Regions from separate parts of the Homo sapiens genome. Here all the other regions are linked to region 4. The links are contacts of gene promoters, found by promoter capture Hi-C in blood cells and fetal thymus (Javierre and others, 2016). All regions are on one chromosome and are shown on one strand. Each heading gives the region's core, a stretch centred on a gene start or on the middle of the fragment in contact. The rest is flanking DNA. Distances are from core to core; before and after follow the strand shown. Region 1 has its middle 35 kb from the start of NFIA. Region 2 has its middle 5.7 kb from the start of PGM1. Region 3 overlaps ITGB3BP (integrin subunit beta 3 binding protein). Region 4 holds the start of USP1 (ubiquitin specific peptidase 1). Region 5 overlaps EFCAB7 (EF-hand calcium binding domain 7). Region 6 has its middle 9.5 kb from the start of NFIA.

Region 1 (4,160 bases), core at 1,119-3,618, 1.4 Mb before region 4:
TTCCCAAAGCTGAAACTACACAGAACAGCCTGTGCCCTGCAATTGACTCAGGGAGATACCCACATTCTGAAGTACTGAGACTGGGACTTGGGAAGGTCAATGCTCTGATTCAACACAGGTGATATGAAGAACAGTAATGAGTTTCAAAGTGGCCTATAGGCCTGGTGCGGTGGCTGACACCTGTAATCCCAGCACATTGGGAGGCCAAGGCAGGTGAATGGTCATAAGTTCGAGACTAGCCTGGCCAACATGGTGAAATCCTGTCTCTACCAAAAATACAAAAATTAGCCGGGCGTAGTGGTACATGCCTATAATCCCAGCTACTCGGGAGGCTGAGTGAGGCAGGAGAATTGCTTGAACCCAGCAGGCAGAGGTTGCATCGAGCTGAGATCACACCACTGCACTCCAGCCTGGGTGACAGAGCGAGACTCTGTGTCAAAATAAATAAATGACCAAAGTGGCCTATAGACTGGATCACAGCTCTGCCCTTTATTTACCAAAAAAAAGCCCTGGATTGCTCATTTTTGGGAAATGGTACCAAAAAGAAGTAGCTAAGGTTTCCAGAAATATACCTATCCAATCCACACTCTTACACCAATCAATGTGTGTTTCCATGACATGGAAGTCCTAAAGTCTGTTCTCAAGTCACCCTAGCTATGTGAAGATGATGAAATGAGAAACATTAAAATTCTAGAATGAAGATAGTAATTTCAGGAAGAAAATTTATCAGCTTAATGTTTGAGCTAGGGTATATGTTCTTTGAACATTATCCTCATGATTTTATTATAACGAAACTAAGGCATGAACTTGAAAAATGGGAGAATGGGAGAAAATTTTACCCTAAAACTAATAATGCAAATGTTGGGAGAAATACTCTTGTATTTCTCCATATTTCTGCTAGCACCTAGCACCTAGAACAGTGTAGAATATACAAAATACATTCCATTAATATGTGTTGGTTTCAACTGGTTTTTCTTTACAAAGCCCCCTTATCTAATTACCAACTGGTCCCCAAAAGCTAACAATCTAACCACCCAACCTTACATTTGGTAACTTTATAGTGTTAGTTACACAGTAGGGTTTTCCTGCTAACGAATCCTCTGTGGCATCTGTTTCAAAATGAAAATCTATTATATTATTAGAAACACTCTCAGTGTAAAGAAACCAGAGATGAATTGCCAAAGTCTGAGCTCACGATATTGTGTTGGCAAGCAAAAGCATCATGGCTGGACCCAGTGGGAGAAAGAAGATGGAATGCACACCTTTACATCCAATGCCCAACTCAAACCCTTCTATCAGTAACTCCACACCTTTTGATGAGTTCAGTTGTTTTGGGGGATGGAAAGGCGTTTTCTGGTTAGGAATGATGAACGGGTTGGTTTGCTACTTAGGTAAGTAAGAAGAAGGGGAACTAATGAGTAATTGTTGCACAATGACAAAACAACACTCCTGAAAGAAGCATAATTTGCTTCCCTGAACAATCCAGTCCTTTCATCATAAAATGTTCCTATTACATGGATACAGACCAGCAAAAACATTTGCTATACAAAAACACCTATTGTAAATAATTTCCATAACCAGATCGACAAAGCTCTATGACTATAGTTTAGATGCCAGGATTTGACAATAGCTAGATTATACTAAACTTTTCATTGTAATGTATACACTAAAATGACATTTGGTCAGTTTGGTCATAAAATAAATATAAATTATTGATATTTATAAAATTACAAATTCACTCATTCTTGGTTTCTCCCAATGCACCCCTGCTCCCTTCTTCCATCATCAATATTTTCCTAGGAAACATTATAATCTACAATTAACTGAGGCTGAAAACACCATCTTTTACCACATCTTTAGTGTAGCAAAAGTACCGAGCAAGCCACCCTTCTGCCTGATCTTTCTTGATAACTTTTTTAAGTACCCTAGAGCCAGTTGGTGCGTTCTTGGCTGTAATGCAGCCAAGTGGAATGCATTACATTCCACTTGTAATGCAGTGGAAGACACCTGGGTGTGTGCTGGGAGATCTGGGCTCTCCATAACCTGGCTCTGCCACTTCTCTATGAGACTTTAAGTGACTCACTTGATCTCCCTGAACCTCTCCTTCCTCTTCTGTGATGACAGAAGTTAGTCTTCCTTCACAAAGGTGTTGTGAGAATTATACGACACTTGATATTTAAAATTCCTAATCTAGTAATCTAGCACACAGTAGGTAAACTTAAAGGTAGATTAATGTTAAAGTTAGATTCTGACTGGACATGGTGGCTTGAGTCTTCAGTACCAGCTACTCAGGAGACTGAGGGAGGAGGATCCCTTGAGACCAGGAGTTTAAGGCTACAAGTATGCTATCACCGTATCGGTGAACAGCCACTACACTCCAGCCTGGGCAACATAGCAGGATCACAACTCTAAAAGAAAAAAAAAAAGGTAGATTCTGAAATATAGTGAAATACAGATCTAGGGCTCCTAGAGTAAAAAAAAAAAAATTTTTTTTTTTTTTTGAGACAGAATCTGGCTCTGTCGCCGAGGCTGGAGTGCAGTGCTGTAATGTCAGCTCACTGCAACCTCCACCTCCTGGGTTCAAGCAATTCTCCTGCCTCAGCCTCCCAAGTAGCTGAGATTACAGTGCCCACCACCACACCCAGCTAATTGCTAATTTTCGTATTTTAGTAGAGACAGGGTTTCACCCTGTTTTGGCCAGACAGGTCTCGAACTCCTGACCTCAGGTGATCCACCTGCCTTGGCCTCCCAAAGTGCTGGGATTACAGGCGTGAGCCACTGTGACCTGCCAAAAAATATTTTTAAAAGCAGAAAAAATACAGCAACTATGGCTTGCATCCCCATGTCTTTGTTTCCTCATCTTTAAAATTGGGATAATGGGCCAGACGCAATGGCTCATGCTCATAATCCCAGCACTTTGGGAGGCCAAAGCAGGAGGATCCCTTGAGCCCAGGAGTTTGAGGCTGCAGTGAGCTATGATTGTGCCACTGCACCCCAGCCTGGGTGACAGAGAGAGACCCTGTCTTTAAATAAATAAATAAATAAATAGGGATAATGTATACCATATGAGATTGTGAAAATGATAATTAAATCATTTAATAGAGGCAAATGATAATAAAAATAGTAAATAGTAATAGTAAGTCATCCACAAATATAAGATGTTGTTTGGTTTTTTTGGTTCGTTTTGTTGTTGTTTCTGAGACAGTTCTAGCTTGTCACCCAGACCGGAGTGCAGTGGTGCCATTTCAGCTCAATGCAACCTCAGCCTCCCAGGCTCAAGCCATCCTTCCATCTTGGCTGTCGAAGTAGTTAGGATTACAGGCATGGGCCACCACGCCCAGCTTTTTTTTTTTTTTTTTTTTTTTTTTTTTTGTAGAAATGGGTTTCTCTGTGTTGCTCAGGCTGGTCTCCAGCCTCTGGGCTCAAGTGACCCGCGCACCTCCCAAACACTGGGATTACAGGCTTGAGCCACCACATAGCCATTGTCTTTTTTTTTTTTTTTTTTTTCTCTGAGACAGAGTCTCACTCTGTTGCCCAGGCTGGAGCGCAGTGGTGTGATCTCGGCTCACTGCAGCCTCCACCTCCCAGGTTCAAGTGATTCTCCTGCTTGACTACTGAGAAGCTGGGATTACAGATGTACCACCACGCCCAAGTAATTTTTATATTTTTATTAGAGATGGGGTTTCGCCATGTTGGCCAGGCTGGTCTCGAACTCCTGACCTCGGGTGATCCGCCCACCTCGGCCTCCCAAAGAGCTGGGATTACAGATGTGAGCCACAGCACCCGGCCTACAGCCGTTGTCTATGAGGAGATAAGCTAGTTATCAAAACTCCCCATAACCCATCCTGTTTCCTACTCAAACACTGAAACCTCTTAGCTCTCTCCCACTTCCTCTAAGGCCCTAATCTTCAAGGAACAGAAAGAAGCTAAACAGTCTTACAAGTTAGATTTCTTAGAATAAAAGATGGGTTTTCACATTAGAAATAGGTGAAAGTTGGCTGGGTGCGGTGGCTCAGGCCTGTAATCCCAGTAATCCAAGCACTTTGGGAGGTCGAGGCGGGCAGATCACCTGAGATCAGGAGATTGAGACCAGCCTGGCCAACATGGTGAAACGCTGTCTCTACTAAAAAATACAAAAAATTAGTCGGGCATGGTGGCGC
Region 2 (4,133 bases), core at 1,225-3,724, 1.2 Mb after region 4:
TTGTGTACATGTCTAGATTTCCCTATTTTAATGTTCTGGAGTGCAGGGATCTTATTTTGGTTGGCTAATCTGGGACCTAACTGACTATCCTGTACTGTGTGCTTAGTAAAAATTTGATAGGTGGTTTGAAAAGGAACAGATGGGTGAAAGGGAGAGTAAGTGAAGGTATGAATAAAAGTATTTCAAAGAAGGTTTCAAAATTAAGAAAAATAACAGAACCTAAGAATCATATCCAGGGAAGTGATATCAAGGGAAAAAAGAAAAACAGTTCTGTCATGAGGAAAAATTGCTAATACCAGCCAATTCTAAACTAGTTCTGATAGACTGCGTTCAGAATCTCAAGGTGGCATACAGAACACTCCCAGTACACTGCAGCAATTCTACATAGTGAATAAACAAAGAACTATGTTTCCTAGACAATTCAAGGAAAAAAACATTTTTGACCTTAGTTTTTCAGATAATTTAAGCAAGATAATAATTTGGAGATATTTACCTCCGTGATTTTCTTGATTCCTTCCTTCACTCGTGCTACACTTGATATATATTTCTCTGGTGTTTATTGATTGTAGAGCCTTAGGATAGCCTTTTTTTTTTTTTTTCCTTATTCTGTCTCTTGCTGTCACCTGAAATCATGCTTTAGGCCTCCAGAGGATCAAGCCATAAGTTTTGTGGCTCATAGCCCTCCATAAAATTAAAGCATCTGTGTATTAGTCTGTTCTCATGCTGCTATGAAGAAATACCTGAAACTGGGTAAATCATAAAGAAAATAGGTTTAATTGACTCACAGTTCTGCATGGCTGGGGAGGCCTCAGGAAACTTAAAATCATGGCAGAAGGCACCTTTTCACAGGGCGGCAAGAGAGAGAATGAGTGCCCAGCAGAAGGGGGAAGCCCCTTATAAAACCATCAGGTCTTGTGAGAACTCACTCACTATCACAAGAACAGCAGCATGGGGTTAACTGCCCCTATGATTCAATTACCTCCCACCAGGTCCCTCCCATGACATGTGGGGATTATGGGAACTACAAGATGAGATTAGGGTGGGGACACAGCCAAACCATATCAATCTGTATTAGTTTTCTATAAGTGCTGTAACAAATTACCACAAACTTGGTAGCTTAAAACAACAGAAATTTATTTTCTCACAGTTCTGGAGGCCAGAATTTCAAAATCAGTATAACTGGGCCAAAATCAAGGTGACGACAGGGTGGTGCTTCCTTGGAAAGTTTTAAAGGAGACTGCATTTTTTGTCTCATCCAGCTTTTGGTGTCTGCCAGCATTCCTTGGCTCGTGACTACATCACTCCAATCTGCCTCCTTGGCCTTCTCCTCTTTTGCAGTCAAATGTCCCCCTTTCTCTGTCTTCTAAGGACACTTGTAATTGCATTTAGAGCCCTCTTGGACAATCCAGGATAATCTTTCCATCTCAAGATTCTTAATTATATCTGCAAACTCATTTATGCCATATAAGGTAACACTCACAGATTCTGGGGATTAGGAAATGTATAACTTTTAGGAGCCATTATTTAACCTACCACAGCATCTAACAAGGAATCAAGAATACTGATGAAATGGAAAAATGAAGACATTCATTATCTCTTGAAAAATGTCCTTCACAATCTGTATTTTTAAAAATCTTATCTTTTGCCATTTGAAATATTAATATTTGCATATCAAATATTCATATAAATTAATTCAGACTGATATCCTTTATAGAAGATTCCAAAAATGAATTCTAAGGAAAAAGTCCAATTTATCACATATATCAATCCTTTTCACACATAGCCTCATGAATAACCACTTGACACTGAAACATGAATTCAGAAACTATTATTATTTTGGCACAGGAACAAACTTCAGAATCACAGCATGCAGATATCTATTAACTTTTATTCAAGTAAAAGTTTTAAACACCTGAATAACTTATGGATACAAACGGACATCGGTTTCATATTGCTTCCATATGTAGGAACTAGTCATTTCAGCAAATTACAAATAGATCAGGATTTAATAAACTGAATCTGCAGTCAAGAAGAACCTATGATTTAGACTGCATAAATGAACTAAAATGACATTTGCAATATTGTTCAGCATTAATTTGGGTTGATATGGAATTGTCAATTATTTTCCAGTTACAAATAACTGTACATTCTTATAGAAGATTATTTACAACTGACTTACTCTATTAGAGCTCTGTTAACTGAGAGACTAGTCTCTAGTTAGAGACTAGTTTAGGACATTCTAGTCCTAAACTGTAGACATCCTCAATATTCCTCAATATAGATTATTCCACCATTACTTGACACCACCAGACAGGAAGATGAGGATACATAGATATAGAGCTGTTTTGTTTTTAACAATAACATGATACATGCTTTTATTGTATGCCAAATAGGTGCCTGCTAAGGCTTTGTCTATATGTTGTTAATGAATTACTTTTCAATATTTCTCACTTTGATAATTGGTTTCTATATAAGCCATGTAACTAATAACTGTTAAATGTTAATGCCACTATATCACCCACTTCACCATCCAGTATTTTCATTATAAACTCCATACATCTTTTTTATTATAAATTTCACATACATACCATTGATTATTTGTTGCAGTCATCAAAGATTGCTATCCTATAGTAAATACATTTCTTTAAATCATTGCAATTGGAATGCAAATGAAGGATAAATATGATTGTACTTGAGAATAGTAAAATTCATAGAGACAGAATAGTGGTTTTCAGGGGTAGGAGGGAGGAGGGAATGGGGAGTTACTGTTTCATGGGTACAGAGTTTCAGTTTGCGAAGATGAAAATGTTCTGGAGATGGATGGTACAATGGTTGCACAACAATGTGAATGTACTTAGTGCCACTGAATGTACACTTAAAAATCATTAAAATGGTAAATTTCATTACGTATGTCTTGCCACAATGAAAACAAAATGCTTTTGTTTGTTCACTGCTGTTATGATAAAGATCTCAACACCTGACATCCCCTACAAGGCCCAATATGATCAGACCTACCATTCCACCCCGAGGTTTTTATACTCCAGTTACACTAACTGTCTTTTTTCAAGTTATTGATGACACTAGATTCCTTCTTACTTTAAACTTCCCTTAACGTTCTTTCTGGAATGAAATGCTCCTCCTCTCTTTTCACCTGGCCAGGTACTATTACTCATTGTTTTATCCCTCAGCTTACATAGCACTTTCTCCAGGATATTGTCCATGACTCTCTCCAATGATAGATCCTTCTATTTACAATCTAACAGCACCTATACTTCTTTGTTGCACTTATCACAATTATGATTTATTATTCAGTATCTGTCTCCTGCAACATATTGCAAGATCTGTGAGACCAGAGACTATTTTGCTTTTTTTTTTTTTTTGAGACGGAGTCTCGCTCTGTTGCCCAGGCTGGAGTGCAGTGGTGCGATCCTGGCTCACTGCAAGATCCGCCTCCCGGGTTCACGCCATCCTCCTGCCTCAGCCTCCTGAGTAGCTGGGACTACAGGCACCTGCCACGACACCTGGCTAATTTTTTGTATTTTTAGTAGAGATGGGTTTTTACCCTGTTAGCCAGGATGATCTCGATCTCCTGACCTCATGATCCGCCCACCTTGGCCTCCCAAAGTGCTAGGATTATAGGCGTGAGCCACCGCGCCCGGCCGAGACTATTTTGTCTTATTCATCAAACACCTTTCAAAGAGCTGTCATTTAGTACAAGTTCAAAACATATTTATAGAGTTAATGAATCAATACACGAACGAATACATCTAAATGGTAAAGAATAATTCATTAATGAAATAATGAGGGCCGGGTGTGGCGGCTCATGTCTGTAATTGCAGCACTTTGGGAGGCCGAGGAAGGCAGATCACTTGAGGTCAGGAGTTCCAGACCAGCATGGCCAACATGGCGAAACGCCATCTCTACTAAAAATACAAAAATTAGCTGGGCATAGTGGCATGTGCCTGTAATTCCAACTACTTGGGAGGCTGAGACACGAGCATTGCTTGAACCCCAGAGGTGGAGGTGGAAGTGAGCCAAGATCGTGCCACTGCACTCCAGCCTGGGTGATGGAGTGAGACTGTCTCCAAAAAAAAAAAAAAAAAAAAAAAAGTAAGGATTACCACTTAAAAGGT
Region 3 (3,882 bases), core at 767-3,266, 1.0 Mb after region 4:
GAAATTTTATCTAGACATGCACCTGCCAACTGCTACGAGCTGGTATTTACTGGGCAGATTAATTACAAATATTTCTCTGTTCCTTTAAATATGATCAGGCAGATGCAGAAGTTGGTGCTCATGGTGAGTGCATTTCTTCTTAATGCCTGTGAGATATAAAAGATAATTATATTATCAAGAATTAGTTAACATGCACGTCATACATGACTTAAGAAGTGATTTTAACACCTAATAACAATCTAGTTTGGTACCTAGTTTAGTTAGATGCTGCTGGCAACCTCTCATTTGCTTTTTTCTTTTGAGACGGAGTCTCACTCTCCCCCAGGCTGGAGTGGAGTGGCATGGTCTCGGCTGACTGCAACCTCTGCCTCCCGTGTTCAAGTGATTCTCCTGCCTCAGTCTCCTGAGTAGCTGGGACTACAGGTGTGTGCCACCACACCCAGCTAATTTTTGTATTTTTAGTAGAGACGGGGTTTCACTATGTTGGCCAGGCTGGTCTTGAACTCCTGACCTCGTGATCTGCCCACCTCGGCCTCCCAGAGTGCTGCGATTACAGGCATGAGCCACTGTGCCCGGCCTTATTTGCTTTTTGATTATCTTCACTAGTAACTGTCAATATGACTACTCTGACATAGCACTCAGTATTCTTTACCTTATGTGACCATACTTACATGAGATACTTCTCAGAGAATTTTAAAACTCCAACAGGGCCTACAGAAAACTTATTTACATGCCTTTGTCTATAAGCCTTAGGGGCCTTTCAGCAGGTGTTTCCTCCAACAGCTGCCCCCCGCCCAAAAGACAGTATTTACTATGACAGATTCCTATTCAGAATATGTCCCTCTGGGGACTCCTAGTGGTGGTAGAGGCTCATGTCTCTTCAGCCTTAGAATCCTTCTGTGAGAGAAAGCCCTTGAAGGAAGCAGCCTTTGGCAACTAATGGCATACATTACCACAGGGCATGTGGGAAGAGATCTTTAAAAATGACCTAATAAGGCTGGGGGTGGTGGCTCATGCCTGTACTCCTAGGCCAAGGCAGAGGGACTGCTTGAGCCCAGGAGGTCAAGGATGCAGTGAGCTATGATTGCACCATTGCAGTCCAGCCAGGGCGACAGAACGAGACCCTGTCTTTAAAAAACAAAAACAAACAAACAGATAATCCCATCCTGAGGTGATCTGTCTGCTGTGAATTCCCATAACACTGCTTATTCTTCATTTGGTACTTACAGTAGAGAATAATACTTCTCAGTCTGAAGGGGAAGAAACTTCTGTCAACTCTTCCTCTGTACTCCATGGAAGTGTGACAAATTTGATTGGCCAAAGTCCAGAACATTCATTGGTCTACATTTTACTAGTAACATTACACAAATTCTTCCCTCCTTGTAGTTTCCCTATCACTGTCTACTCTCAATCCCAGTGGACCTTTTTTATTATAATACTTCCTAATTTCATGTAGTAGGGAGACCAACCCATTCTATTGTGCTGACCTGCAGTCAAGCATGTAAAAGGCAGGCTTGTGGTCTTCACAGCATTAACAGTCACACGGACTTGGGGGTCTATTTAAAAGATCCAGCTTTTAGGTTCAGTAAAGTGCACAGAATTCAAGATTTAAACTTAGTGTGAGAAAGAAGAGGTTGCATTTCTGCTTTAAGGCAATCTACCTTAGTTACCCCAAGCTTCTACTAGAGAGCCTGCCATGTTGGGGGTTATCAATTCCACCACCAATCAAGTTGATACTTTGATCCTCATTGGATGCACAATCCTTGTTTGTACTTGTTATTGGCCAGAACTTAGAAGAGTCTGAACTTGTATCATTTATCATAACTTGCCTTATATTTTGTGTCCTTATTAGGTTTCAAACTGTCATAATACACAGCGCTTTGTTCATACTAAGCCTCATCCTTGTGTTACCCAAGTGATTCATCCACATTGTTACTAAAGTATCCCAATATCCCGTTATCATTAGCCAAAATGTTTTTCTCTTCCCATCTTTTGATGGTCTTAGCACTCTGGCTGTGGCCTCTGGGTTGCTGTCACCCTTACTTTCTCTCTTATTCTAGCATTGTTTCACAAAGGCTTCACTTTTTAAAGGCTCTGGGAGTGAATCTGTATGGGACAGTCCTCCCCACTGAACAATTACAGGTCAAGAGGAATAATCACTGAAGTGTGACAGAGGGCTGGAGCAGTTGTGCAGGTAGGGAAGTTGGCCACGGTGATATCAGGAGTACTGTCAGGTTTCTAGGGCATAAGGACAAAATCAGGAGTTTCATTCACATCCTCCCTTACGCATACCAGTCAGGCAGCTATGACAAATATACAAAAGAGCAATGAGAGAATATGGGGGAGAGGGATTTGGGGAAGCTTATGCAGAAGATGAGTTCTAAGCAGGTTTTGAAAGACGGGTAAAATTTTGACAATAATGAGGGAAAAGGCATGCTAGGTTGAGCAGACAAGACCCAAGGTAAGGACATGAGAAAGGCACTTTCTGGGGAAGGTGTCTGAGAAATGGCAAGTAATCTGGAATGAATAAGGCACAATGAAGAAACTGGAAAGGTAAGCTGTGGGCAGATCAGGGAGACTCCTGAATGTCAGTTTAAATTTGGATTTTATCATACATATGGTAGAGTGATACCTTCTAAAGCATACATTTGTCCAGTAGCAGGATAGGCTGTAGGGGAAAGGGACCAAAGTGCAGACAGGTAGGTTACAATAGGGACAATGATAATCTGGAAGAGAGGTAATGGAGAAATAAACTGGTACAGTGGGTGTGGAAAGGAGAATTAAGCATTCTCAGAAGTAATATAATCTGGCAGCGTTTGGATGTGGGGACAAAGAGAGAGAGAATTTGACCAATGGAATGATATAATCCCTAGAAAGGTAGAAGAAAAACATCTTTGGAGGGGAAATGATGAAATCAGTATACTTGGGGGACATTGTATGGCAGCTGAGATTGTGGGTTTATAGCCCAGGAGACTATAATAATTTGGAAACCATATACACTAAAGTGAAAAGTCAGGGAACGAAGGAGATAATGAAGGAAATGCTCAAAGTGAGATGAAAACATGGTGAAAGGCAGAACTGAGGGAAATGCCTCAAAGGTGAAGTCACTTAATTTCACTGTCATTGCTCTTTTGCTTCTCACTGAAAGGGAAGTTGACTGGTAGCTCAACCTTAATTCTTTCCAGTTTCTTGAAAGTATTACTCAAAGACTCAAAAGAACACCCCAAAATGTGGTTATCTTTACTAAAATCCATTAACACAAAGCTATTCTCAGTACTCTGAATTCCCTGTAAGTTTATTACAGAGATTATCAAACACTAAATGTTGCACGTTCATTTACTAAATGTGTAACTGTGACGATGTATCTATGATCACCACCTAATATGTTCTCTGTTGGATTTTCATGGGTCAGAAATTTTGTAAAATGGTAACCTTATAATGAATGAATATAAGTGTATGTGGATGGATATATATAAGATATATATATCCTATATATATATTACATATAGGATATATATATTACATATAGGATATATATATTACATATAGGATATATATGTATATATGTACATATATGTAGGATATTACATATAGGACATATATAATCTATTACATAATAGGATATATATATATCTCCTATTACAATATATATATATCTCCTATTACATATAGGAGATATATATATATCTCCTATTACAATATATATATATCTCCTATTACATATAGGATTTATAAGGATAATATTTATATATTATCCTTACTTAACAGGATATAAAAACCTTGGCCAGTAGTGAAACCTGACATTCACAGATTACTACTGGGTGGTGGCAAGAGCACAGGCACTGGCACCAGACTACTCAGTTTAGTATCCTGGCCCTGTTT
Region 4 (3,755 bases), core at 1,233-3,732:
TCCTTCCCATTGAGCCTACTAAGACCCCCATTTTAGCAAGGACCAACACTGAGTTGCTCAGGTTAAAAAAAAAATCGTTACTCTTTGTTTTTTTTTCTTTTTTCGGGTGGGAGGGTGGAGGGCAGGGCCTCACACTGTTGCCCAGGCTGGAGTGCAGTGGTGCATCTCGGCTCACTGCAGCCAGGGGATCCTCCTCCCTCATCCTCCCGAGTGGCTGGGACTACAGGCACGTGCCACCACGCACGGCCAATTTTTGGAGTTTTTTGTAGCGATGGGTCTTGCCATGTTGCCCAGGCTGATCTTGAACTCCTGGGTTCAAGCGGTCCACCGGCCCTGGCTACCCGACCTGTTTTTTCTTACATTATCATACAGCCAATCCATCAGTAGAGCTCGTTGGCTGTGCTCAAAATATATCTTGAACCCTACCAGTTTTCAACATCCCACCATCTTATTCCAGACTACCATAATTTATTCCTTGGCTTATTGAACCAGCATCTTGGCTGACCTTTCCGCTGGTACTTTTCTTTTTTTGAGACAGAGTTTTGCTCTGGTTGCCCAGGCTGGAGTGCAGTGAGGCGATCTCGGCTCACCGCAACCTCCGCCTCCTGGGTTCAAGCGATTCTCCTGCCTCAGCCTCCGGAGTAGCTGGGATTACAGGCCTGCGCCACCACGCCCGGCTAATTTTGTATTTTTAGTAGGGACGGGGTTTCTCCATGTTGGTCAGGCTGGTCTCGAATTCCCGACCTCAAGAGATCAGCCCGCCTTGGCCTCCCAACGTGCTGGGATTACAAGCGTGAGCCACCACGCCCGACCCTGCTTGTACTCTTGAAGGTCAACGTGTAATCCCGCCACTCCCCAGCTCAGAATCATCTAACGACTCCCATCTCCTTACTCGGCTTACCCAGGGTCCTGCCTTTCTCACTCATCTCATCTCCTCCCATCTTATTTCCCAAATTGACTGCGCTCTAAGCGCCCTGGCCTCCTTGCTTCTTTTCAAAACACCAACCACATTAAGCTTCAGGACGTTTGTAACTTGCTGTTCTCTCTGCCCGCACCATTCTTCCCTCAGATTCCTCCAAGCTTTTTCATTCAGCTCTGCTCAAATGTCAACTCAAAGAGGTCTTTCCAGGCTATCGTATCTATCACTTATCTTAGCGTCACTTGTATCTCCCTCTCCAGAATGTAATGCTCCTTTATGACAGGGAATGCCTTTACATCCCTCGCGCCTTGAAAAATGCCTGGCACATAGTAGGCACCTTAAAAATACTTGATTAAATGGATTTGGGCTGAACGTATCCTGCTTAACTGCAGCACTTGAGCTGAGGTCACCTCACCAAAGCAGGCACACAAACACAAAAGGAAGCACACAACCAGATGAGGCCTGCCTGCCGCTCCTGAACCCTTTGGGAGGGCTCGCGCGGGAACCCTGGGAAGCTCCCGCGGCCGGAGCTGGGCCTGAAACTGTTCTTTCGTTTCCTCCTGCGGCCGAGAAAGGGAAGAGGTAAACAGGCGAAAATGAGGCGAGCAGGGGCTGAGGACCGGGCCTCAGCTCTACAGCATTCGCCTGAGCATGTATTGTTATCCGTGGCAGCGCCTTGTCTCATTGGATGGCCCTAGGCCTAGTGTGGCCGCGACTCCGAACTGAAAGCCCAAGCGCGGCGGCGTCCAGCCGGGCAGCCATTTTCCGAAGCTGCTCTCTTGGTAACCCCGCCCGGGCGCGTACGCACGAACGGAGGCGGGGCTTACCGCGAGGGCCTCGCTCCGGAAGCCGCACCCTCCGCGGCGTCCCACCGTCGAGGATTAACAAAACGCCAAACAAGATTTTAACAGTCGGCAGCGAAAGCGCGCACTCGAGCGCCAATGAGAGCGGAAGGAGGGGCACCGCGCCTGAGGAACACTCCGTATGTCGAACAATGATTGGCTGGAGCCCACCTTTCTTCTTTTTTGCTATTAGATGGGCTTGCTGCTCCCGCCCATCTAATTGGCTTTGGTCTAGGTACTTCTGATTGGCTTCCCCCGGGCGGTGGGAGGCGCGGTTTTGGGGATTGTTCATCATGGATTGGTGAATTTGGGCTCCTTCTCGAGGTGGTGGCCCATCCCGTCTGCTCTCTGTCCCGTCTCCCGACCCGTACGCTTTTCCCTCAACTCGCGCGCACGAATGGTTAAAAAAAGGGTGTGAGGCTCGAGCCCGCCAGCCAGGCCGCTAGCACCTCGCGCGCGCCCTCAGCGAGGACCCGCACGAGCTGCCCGGCTCTGTGCCTGCGTTGTTTGAAACTGTGGAACCCGTTAGGCTTTTGGGGAACTACAGTCCCAGCTGGCTCCGGAGCCCGTGCGTGCCAGGGGCGAGTGGCCGTCGCGAGACGGCTCCTGCCTTTCGTGTCTCTGCAGCGTGGAGACTGGAACCGGCAATTTCAAAGGACGCCACGTTCAATCGCAGCGCTGGCGCGGGCGGAGGCTAAAACACGGGGGTCCTGAGACTGAGGAAAACGCGCCAAGTTCCCCTCGGTGGCGGAGTGCTAAAGACCCTAGCGGTTCAGGCGTTCGGCGAGCGGGGCCGCTGCTTGTTGCGCTCCTGGCTCTCCCGGGGCGGGCGCAGATGGGCGCCGCTCCCGGGATGTAGTTGGTGTTGGTGCAAGACGGGAGCGAGCGGCGGTCGGGGTTCCCGCTCTTGGGAGCGGATGGTCACTCCCCCGCGGGGAGGGCGAGCCGACCAGATTTTCCTGGGGCCGGGGACCCGGCGGGCTCGGGGCAGGGACTCACCTGTCGCACCCACACTCATTCGGGTTGGACTTGCCGGCGTCACCGCCGCGGACTTCGCTTTGGGCCATGACCAGGTAAGGAGGGCCTGGGAGGAGGGGCCGGCTCCCGGGCGCGGGGGCAAGTTCGGCCGGCGCGGGAGAGGAGCTGCCGGGGAGACCCCGGGACCGTGTTGGCCTCGCACCCTGGTCGACCTGCCAGGGGGAGCCGTGTGTGCCTCGGGCGTGGCGCCTGTCTTGCCGCCGCCGGGACGCGAGAAGGCAGGTGCGGGCTGGGCGTAAATAGGCCAACTCCGCGGCGAGGGCGCCCGGCGCGGGGGTGTGGGCCGAGGACGCCGCCGCCAGCCTCCCCCGACCGGGCAGCCTGGTCGCTGCTCGTCCTTCCAGCTTTCTTTCCGTTCCCGAGAGCGGTGAAGGATGGGGAGAAAGAAACGTTTCCACGCAGGTTGCCCTGTGTCGGTAATTGCGAAATTTTACCGCGCATTTTCTTTCACTTACACTTTTTCAAGAAGTGTTTAGAACGCCGCGTGTCTTAAACCTTGGCGAAGATGTCCTTGTAGATTTTTGTTGAAAAATCGGAATCGAGTCGTGTCATCTTATAAAGAATTTAAAACTATTGGGACTGAGTGTTCACGCTGTCAACAGATAATGGTCGATTCGTCGTGCTTTCTGCGAAAGTTGATTTAGTTACAGGAGAAATATTTTGGATGTAACAGCCCCCCAGTTACAAGGAAAGCCAGGAGCAAGAAATAGCAAGGAAGATACTGCACCTGGCAAAATGTTACATTCTCGGTGTGAGCTTTGCTTTGAGGGGCTAGGAGGTTTGGTTTTTTGATTAAGCTGACGATCCGCTATTTCACCTGCCTAATCATTCTTCCCTTCTGTGTAGTCTGGTTACTCTGTCGGTTTGAGATCCAGTTTCTGTCATCCATTAAATTGGCTCTCGAGAAAAACCTTTTATCAGAATCATTAATGCTTGGCGATCCCTGAGAACTTAGC
Region 5 (4,073 bases), core at 1,023-3,522, 1.1 Mb after region 4:
TTAAGATACTTTTAATTCTCATTTTGGTGCTTTAAGATTTATCATAATAAAATTAAAACGCTTTTGGCCTCTTAAGTCACTAGCCTGAATTTGACCCATACTGAGGAAAGTGTAAAGGATGTGTAAAAATGGGTGGAATGTCTGAAAAAGTGAAGTACTGAGAGATAAGTGAACTTTTAAAAGAGAATTGAGTTGGGGTTTTTTTATTTCTTATTTTTATTTTTTGTTTTGTCTTTTATTGCTTCTGTCCTTTATCACATTTAAAAATTCCTCTCATTACAAAGGTCCCCAAAACCACCAAATTTGGTTCTTTCCAGGAGTATCAAATGATTTGGACATCTTTAGTCATGAGAGAGTAGTAAACAACAGTACTAGATAACACTGACTACTCATGTCAGTTTCATCAAGGCTAATAACTTTATGGGTAGAGAAACTGAGTTATTTTGCCAATTTTATAATGAATTTTCTTAAACCAAAACCCTGACATATTTGTGCAGCAGTGTCTTGAGTTTGTATCCAATAAGATCTATTTGAGGAAATGTATTTTGAGGAATACAAGAATTGACAAGATTAAAATTTATTTGATGTCTAAATAAAATACATTATTTGTAAAGTAGTTTAAATGCAAATGCACATGACTGACTTTTAAAGTCATGTTTAATTTTGATTTACATAATTTTAAAATTACTAAAATGCTCTATTTTGAATTTTAAGTATTTGTGTTTAATTCATATACATTAAATGTTTAGGCAGACATCCAATAAATTTTTTTTTTTTTGAGACGGAGTCTTGCTCTGTCTTCCAGGCTGGAGTGCAGTGGCGCGATCTTGATTCACTGCAGCCTCTGCCTCCTGGGTTCCAGCGATTCTCCTGCCTCAGCCTCCTGGGTAGCTGAGATTACAGTTGCACGCCACCATGCCTGGCTAATTTTTGTATTTTTAGTAGAGACGGGGTTTTGCCATGTTGGCCAGGCTGGTCTCGAGCTCCTGACCTCAGGTGATCTGCCTGCCTCGGCCTCCCAAAGTGCTGGCATTATAGGCGTGAGCCACCACGCCTGGCCAATAAATTAAAATTACTTCTAATTTGCCATTATTTCTAAAATAATCCGAGTTTTTTTTTGTTACTGTTTTGAAAATATACTAAGAGAAGGAATCTGCTAAGTTTAAAAGTTTAACATGCCTTCCACTACTATGGCATTTAGTTTGTGAATCAATGTGTATGTATTACTAAGGTGCTATCAATCTTATGAAATTATCTGGGAGGATAACTATACAGTGTTTGTCTCTTCAGTGTTATATACACTTTTGGTTTTAGGGTGGAATACTCTCTTAACGTTGTAATAATTGATTTTAGATAAACTATTTTTTAAAAAGGAGTAACATGAACTAGAGCTGCTGCTTCTTGCTACACCTTTCATCTATATCCTTCTGCCACTTATGTGCATTTCCATTTTAAGGTCAGAGACAGCGGTAGCATTACTATAGCTTTAAGTTCCTTTTTTGTCAATTTATAAATAATACAGGATTATAGATGCATGTCAGAACTTTAAAGTAAACCCTGGCAAAAGATCCATATCATGGTGTCAAAATTTAAATATCTACAGCTACGTGATATTTTTACTATCATCAAACTTAATCATTAGATCCAGCTAATTCTAAACCTAGAGATTAAAGTTAGTAGGAAATAGATTGTATCAATTTCTTAGCTATGGGGACATCTGCTTACTGAGTACATGTTTTGGCATAATTAATTTTATTCTGAGAAAGTTGTTCTTGTCTAATTACCAGTACATTTTTTAAAACAATATTTTCTTTGTTACTAAAGATAGCAGCAAGCATATGCTAAGCTACCACTTGTGAGAAAAAGTTACATACCTTTTTTCTCAAAACTGAACAGAAGATATAATTTTCTTTCATGTGGACTTCAAATGCTGGCAAGGATGTGGAGAAAAGGGAACCCTCTTACACTGTTGGTAGGAATGTATATTAGTACAACCACTGTGGAGAACAGTTTGGAGGCTTCTCAAAAAACTAAAAATACAGCTACCATAGGATCTAGCATCCTACTGCTTGGTATATATCCAAAAGGAAATCAGCATATTGAAGAGATATCTGCACTCCCATGTTTACTGCAGCACTATTCACAATAGCCCAAATTTGGAAGCAACGTAAGAGTTCATCAATAGATGAATGGATAAAAATAAAAAAAGTGGTACATATACACAGTGGAGTACCATTCAGCTATCATAAAAAAGAATGAGATCCTGTCATTTGCAATAACATGGATAGAACTGGAGGTCATCATGTTAAGTGAAATAAGCCTGGCACAGAAAGGCAAACATCACACATTCTTTCTTATCTGTGGGAGCTAAAAATTAAAACAATTGAACTCATGGAGATAGAGAGTAAAATGATGGTTACCAGAGGCTGAGAAAGGTAGTGGGGGTAGGGGGAGAAAATAGAAAATAGAAAAATAGAAAGAATAAGACCTAGTATTTAGCTAGCACAACAGGGTGACACTAGTAAAAAAAATCATTTAAGTGTACATTTTAAAATAATTAGAGTATAATTGGATTGTTTGAAACAAAGGATAAATGCTTGAGGCAACAGATACCCTATTTACCCTGATGTAATTATTGCATACCTGTATCAAAAAATCTCATATTATACACCTACTATGTATCTCCAAAAATTAAAGATTTAAAAAAAAGAACCTTAGAAAAAAGGCACTTTAGGCTTAACAATAAGGAAGAAATTTTGCAGGAAATTTTATATAATATTCATTGTCATAAAAATAATTTAGTAGTTGTGTAAATGTGTTCTGTATATGTACCATGATTCAGTTAACCACTCCTTGATTCTTTGAACATTGTTTCCTTTATTATTAGTAGCAGTAGTGTAGCAATATGATAAACATCTTTGCACACTAAGCCTTTTTAAAATAAAAATATTTTAGAGGCAAAAAAAAAATTACAACTTCATTTACATCTACTTGTATTCCCAGCTTTTAAAGGGTAGGAGCTGGCTGGGGTTGGAATCCTAAAACACATATTGCCATTTCTTTGATTCTGTAAACAGCTGAATTAAGGAATAGTTCATTTACACACTAGGCAAAATACTTACTTACCTGTTGTTGCTAGGGCAGCATGGTAATCAGGGCTTTTGTCGACATCCAAAATAAAACTGTGGGAATAAAAACATTTATATTATCTCCAATGCAATGAATTTCCACAAAGCCTTTATAGGTATATGGAAGATGGCGGTTACCACAACTACAACTTCTGTTAGCTCTGAAAGTCACTGGCATAATCTAGAGGAGAAGAGAATTTTATTTATGGATTTTTAATATGTTATAACCCATGAGTTATGGCCATAGATAGCAATTTTACAGTCAGATGTAGACTTCCTATTTAGATTATAAAATTTCTTGCCAGGCGCGGTGGCTCATGCCTATAATCCCAGCACTTTGGGAGGCCGAGACGTGCGGATCACCTGAGGTCAGGAGTTTGAGACCAGCCTGACCAACGTGGAGAAACCACGTCTCTACTAAAAATACAAAATTAGCTGGGGGTGGTGGTGCATGCCTGTAATCCCAGTTACTCGGGAGGCTGAGGCAGGAGAATCACTTGAACCCGGGAGGCAGAGGTTGCAGTGAGCCGAGATTACACCATTGCACTCCAGCCTGGGCAACAAGAGCCAAACTCCATCTCAAAAAATAATAATAATAATAAAATAAAATTTCTTTTTTTGAGATGCAGTCTTCCTCTGTCACCCAGGCTGGAGCACAGTGGCTCAATCTCGGCTTACTGCAGTCTCCGCCTCCCAGGTTCAAGCGATTCTCCTGCCTCAGCCTCCCAAGTAGCTGGGATTACAGGCGCAGGCCACCAGGCCCGGCTAATTTTTGTATTTTTAGTAGAGACAGGGTTTCACCATGTTGGCCAGGCTGGTCTTGAACTCCTGACCTCAGGTGACCTGCCCACCTCGGCCACCCAAAGTATAATTGTAAACCCAAATTACAGGTGTGAGCCACCACGCCAGTCTAGAATATAAAATTTCTTTGGAACTAAAAAGTTT
Region 6 (3,677 bases), core at 80-2,579, 1.4 Mb before region 4:
ACCATGAGATTGTTTTGTAATCTTGATTATTAGTTATAGAGAAGATTAGGCTGCTGTATCGGAGACCTGAAAACACTGTAGCTTAAAAAAAACACAACTACGGTAGCCTAAATATAATCTATGCTGGAGAAGCGGCTCTGCTCCAGGAGGTTATTTAGGAACGCAGGTTCCTTTCATCCCGTAGCTCTTTTGTCTCCCAGGGAATTGTCCGGGTCTTTGTAGTTGAAGTTGGTATTTCAGTATCATTGCTGTCTTTGGAAAGGGCCACAAGTTCAGGACAAATCTATCTTTCTTTCTTTCTTTTCTTTCTTTTCTCTCTTTCTTTCTTTCTTTCCTTTCTCTCTCTCTCTTTCTCTCTTTCCTTTCTTTCTCTTTCTTCTCTCTCTCCCCTTGCTGCTCCCCACCACCTTTCTCCCTTCCTTCCTTTCCTTCCTTTTCCTTTTCTCCTTCCCTCCTTCACTCATTTCTTTCTCCTCTTTATCTTCTTTCTCCTCTTTCTCTCTTTCTTTCTTTCCTTTTTTTTTTTTTTTGTGACAGGATCTCACTCTTATTGCCCAGGCTGGAATGCAGTAGTGTGATCATAGCTCACTGCAGCCTCAATCTCCAGGGCTCAAGCAATCTCCTGCCTCAGCCTCCTGAGTATCAGGGACTACAGATGTGTGGCATCATGCCCAGCTAAATTTTTTATTTTTATTTTTTGCAGAGACAAAGTCTATCTATGTTGCCCAGACTTGTCTTGAACTCCTGTGGCTCAAGTGATCCTCCTGCCTTGGCCTTTGAAAAGGCTGGGGTTATAGGCATGAGCCACTATGCCTGGCCCAGGACAAATTTCTTTTAAGCAAGTGTCATGAAGTTGCAGCCAACAATTCTGCTCACAGAACTTAATCATGTGTCATATTTAGTTGCAAGGAAGGCTAGGAAATATTAACTTTATTTTTATTTTATTAGGATTTTATTTTAATAGGATTGGTTCTCAAACATGGTAGGGAGGGATCAAACTCTCTTGAGGAACTTTTTTTTTTTTTTTTTTTTTTTTGAGCTGGAGTCTCGCTCCTTTGCTCAGGCGGGAGTGCAATGGCATGATCTCAGCTCACTGCACCTCCGCCTCCCAGGTTCAAGCGATTCTACTGCCTCAGCCTCCTGAGTAGCTGGGACTACAGATGTGTGCCACCAAACCCAGAGAATGTTTGTATTGTTAGTGGAGATGGGGTTTCACCATGTTGGCCAGGCTGATCCCGAACACCTGGCCTCAAGCGAGCTGCCTGCTTTGGCCTCCCAAAGTGCTGGGATTACAGGTGTGAGCCACTGTGCTCAGCCTAATATTGACTTTAAATAGCTCATCTGTGTATCTAAGAATAGAGAAAGAACAGATTTGGGAGTGGGGAGGCAATAGTCTGCCACAACTTGCTTATTTGGGAACCTCATCAATTCCTAGATTAATTTCGCTTGTAGTGTTTATCATTTATATTGCAATGTGTGTCCTTTGAATGCCTGTGTTGATTACTTTGTCTAAAAAGTGATTTGAATGATCTAGGATTTATACAGGCAAATCAAGAAAATGTGAAATATATCTCTGTGTGTCAACATTCAACTTCGTTCACAAATTAAAACTTAAGTTGATTATTAGAAAAATATTGCAATTTTGAATTATGTTTCTAATTCTGTAAAACTCTAACATTCTAGTTTCCATATCAATGTCTTGCAAGAGGATTAAGTTTTTATTTGGGTCAACAAAGCAAAATTCCTGGAAGAGCCTACTATTTTCAAGGCATAAAGCCAACCTACACAGAAACATGAGGCTCTCAATGGGGTTAGCAACCCAAATTCACCCTACTAGATTTGCACCTGATTTCCAGTGGCATGGTGGAGCCAAGGTTACTGGAATGCAAATTCACAAAGGTGGGAAGAATTGATGTAGTGTAAACGTTTAAGCCATGTGAACTACTATTACTGGTATTATTTTAATATTATTTAATATTAGGTTTAAGGATATTAGAAGCAGCAATTTGTGGAGTAAGTAGAGCCTATTTCACTAACAGATCTTATTATACATCTTCTGGCTATTTGAATTTTGAGAAGAGTCTGGGAAAAATTTACTCCTAAATTGCCTCTGTTGATCAAAGTCCCCGAAAACCAGTATCAGCGGAGGGTCTTCCTTGTTTCCTTACCTCTCTTTCATGCTCTACTCCTTCTTCCCTTTCTCTCTTTTTCTCATTCATTCCAGCGGTGCCATAGCTCAGGACTGCATCTTTTCTCATATCTTTCTAACCACTCTCTTTGCCTCCACTACTAGAATGATATTTCTAATTTGTAAATCTTATTTTGTATATCTCTTGGTTAAATACAGCCCCTCCAGTGAAGGTTCAAAGGGTTCACAATGCTCTCCACCACCTTGGCTCTGCCTGCCTTTCTAAGGTCATCTCTAGTTACAGTAATACTGTCCAGTGCCGCCTAAGGACGTTTCAGTCAATGAGAGACCACAGATACAATGGTGGTCCTATAAGATTATATAATACTGTATTTTTATTGTACCTTTTCTATGTTTAGATATAGGAATGCTTACCATTGTGTTACAGTAGCCTATAATATTCAGTAGAGTAACCTGCTGTACAGAGCTGAGCCTAGGAGCAATAAGCTATACCACATAGCCTAGGTGTGTATAAGGTTATACCATCTAGGTTTCTGCAAGTATACTCTACGATGTTCTTACAACGACTAAATCGCCTAACAACGTATTTCTCAGAATGTATCCCTGTCATGAAGTGACACATGACTATACAAGCTAATCCTAACTAGACAACTAGCCACAATTGAATACATCCCCATTCTTTGGCCTGTTGCATACACTGACATCATTGCGTTTTCCTGGAGAGGAATGCCCTGCCCCTCACCTGTCTACCTGACTAATGCATATTTCTGTCCCAACACAAATGTCTCTTTTTTAGGCCTTAATGACTGTCTCTGCCTTAATGACCCAGACAAAATGAATCATTCTATCACCACTGCCCATTTTATACATATATATGTGTGTATATATATATATATATATATGTTGGACATAACGCTTATTACATTACACTATTAGTTAGCTTTATGTCTTATCTACCCCATTGCACTGAAAGCTTGTTAGAGGCAGGGATAATGTCTCATTCTTTGCTGTATCCCTAGCTCTTAGCACCTTCAATGAGCCTATATTGAGCACACATAATGTACTAGTTAATTTACATATGTTATCTATCTCCCATTTTCCAGATCAGAAATCTAAAGCTTGCAGAGGTTTTGCCTGAAAAAAAAAAAAATACACATGGTAGAACCAACATTAAAACCTAAGTTGAGGCCAGGCTTGGTGGTTCACACCTGTAATCCCAGCACTTTGGGAGGCCGAGGTGGGCGGATCACAAGGTCAGGAGATTGAGACCATCCTGCCCAACATGGTGAAACCCGGTCTCTATTAAAAATACAAAAATTAGCCAGGCATGGTGGCGGGTGCCTGTAGTCCCAACTACTGAGGAGGCTGAGGCAGGAGAATCACTTGAACCCAGGAGGCAGAGGTTGCAGTGAGCCGAGATCGCAGCACTGCACTCCAGCCTGGGCAACAAGAGCAAAAACTCTGTCCAAAAAAAAAAACCTAAGTTGGACTCTGAAGCCAATGCTATGTTGTCAATGCTATGTTGTTG

The links. The method cuts DNA at HindIII sites, captures the fragments that hold promoters and counts their contacts. A CHiCAGO score of 5 or more calls a contact.
Region 1: a fragment that was not itself captured here is called in contact with the fragment with the promoter of USP1 in region 4 in 1 of 17 cell types (activated CD4 T cells); the score reaches 7.6 in activated CD4 T cells.
Region 2: a contact is called between a fragment that was not itself captured here and the fragment with the promoter of USP1 in region 4, in 2 of 17 cell types (activated CD4 T cells and total CD8 T cells). The highest score is 8.6, in activated CD4 T cells.
Region 3: a fragment that was not itself captured here is called in contact with the fragment with the promoter of USP1 in region 4 in 1 of 17 cell types (total B cells); the score reaches 5.1 in total B cells.
Region 5: a fragment that was not itself captured here is called in contact with the fragment with the promoter of USP1 in region 4 in 8 of 17 cell types (total B cells, naive B cells, activated CD4 T cells and 5 more); the score reaches 15.1 in total B cells.
Region 6: a contact is called between a fragment that was not itself captured here and the fragment with the promoter of USP1 in region 4, in 2 of 17 cell types (non-activated CD4 T cells and fetal thymus). The highest score is 5.8, in non-activated CD4 T cells.

What each region holds. Positions count from the first base shown.
Region 1 is chr1:61,045,217-61,049,376 of GRCh38, forward strand. No RefSeq gene overlaps it. Among named protein-coding and RNA genes, the nearest start is that of NFIA, 35 kb to the right of the region's middle. The HindIII fragment of the contact is 9,690 bases long and covers 1-4,160 here.
Region 2 is chr1:63,585,644-63,589,776 of GRCh38, forward strand. No RefSeq gene overlaps it. Among named protein-coding and RNA genes, the nearest start is that of PGM1, 5.7 kb to the right of the region's middle. The HindIII fragment of the contact is 5,122 bases long and covers 1-4,133 here.
Region 3 is chr1:63,440,958-63,444,839 of GRCh38, forward strand. ITGB3BP (integrin subunit beta 3 binding protein) reads right to left here. Exons shown (of 9, transcript NM_014288.5): 9 at 1-146. Among named protein-coding and RNA genes, the nearest start is that of ALG6, 75 kb to the left of the region's middle. The HindIII fragment of the contact is 685 bases long and covers 1,675-2,359 here.
Region 4 is chr1:62,434,567-62,438,321 of GRCh38, forward strand. It overlaps USP1 (ubiquitin specific peptidase 1), which reads left to right and starts at 2,483. Exons shown (of 9, transcript NM_003368.5): 1 at 2,483-2,834. RefSeq lists enhancers at 950-1,717, 1,400-1,749, 1,718-2,485, 2,310-2,379 and a silencer at 3,080-3,139. The HindIII fragment of the contact is 3,360 bases long and covers 1,079-3,755 here.
Region 5 is chr1:63,526,005-63,530,077 of GRCh38, forward strand. All of the region lies in intron 2 of EFCAB7 (EF-hand calcium binding domain 7), which reads left to right. It also overlaps a transcript of ITGB3BP not described here and the pseudogene RN7SL488P. Among named protein-coding and RNA genes, the nearest start is that of EFCAB7, 4.5 kb to the left of the region's middle. The HindIII fragment of the contact is 4,590 bases long and covers 1-4,073 here.
Region 6 is chr1:61,071,226-61,074,902 of GRCh38, forward strand. No RefSeq gene overlaps it. Among named protein-coding and RNA genes, the nearest start is that of NFIA, 9.5 kb to the right of the region's middle. The HindIII fragment of the contact is 3,582 bases long and covers 1-3,120 here.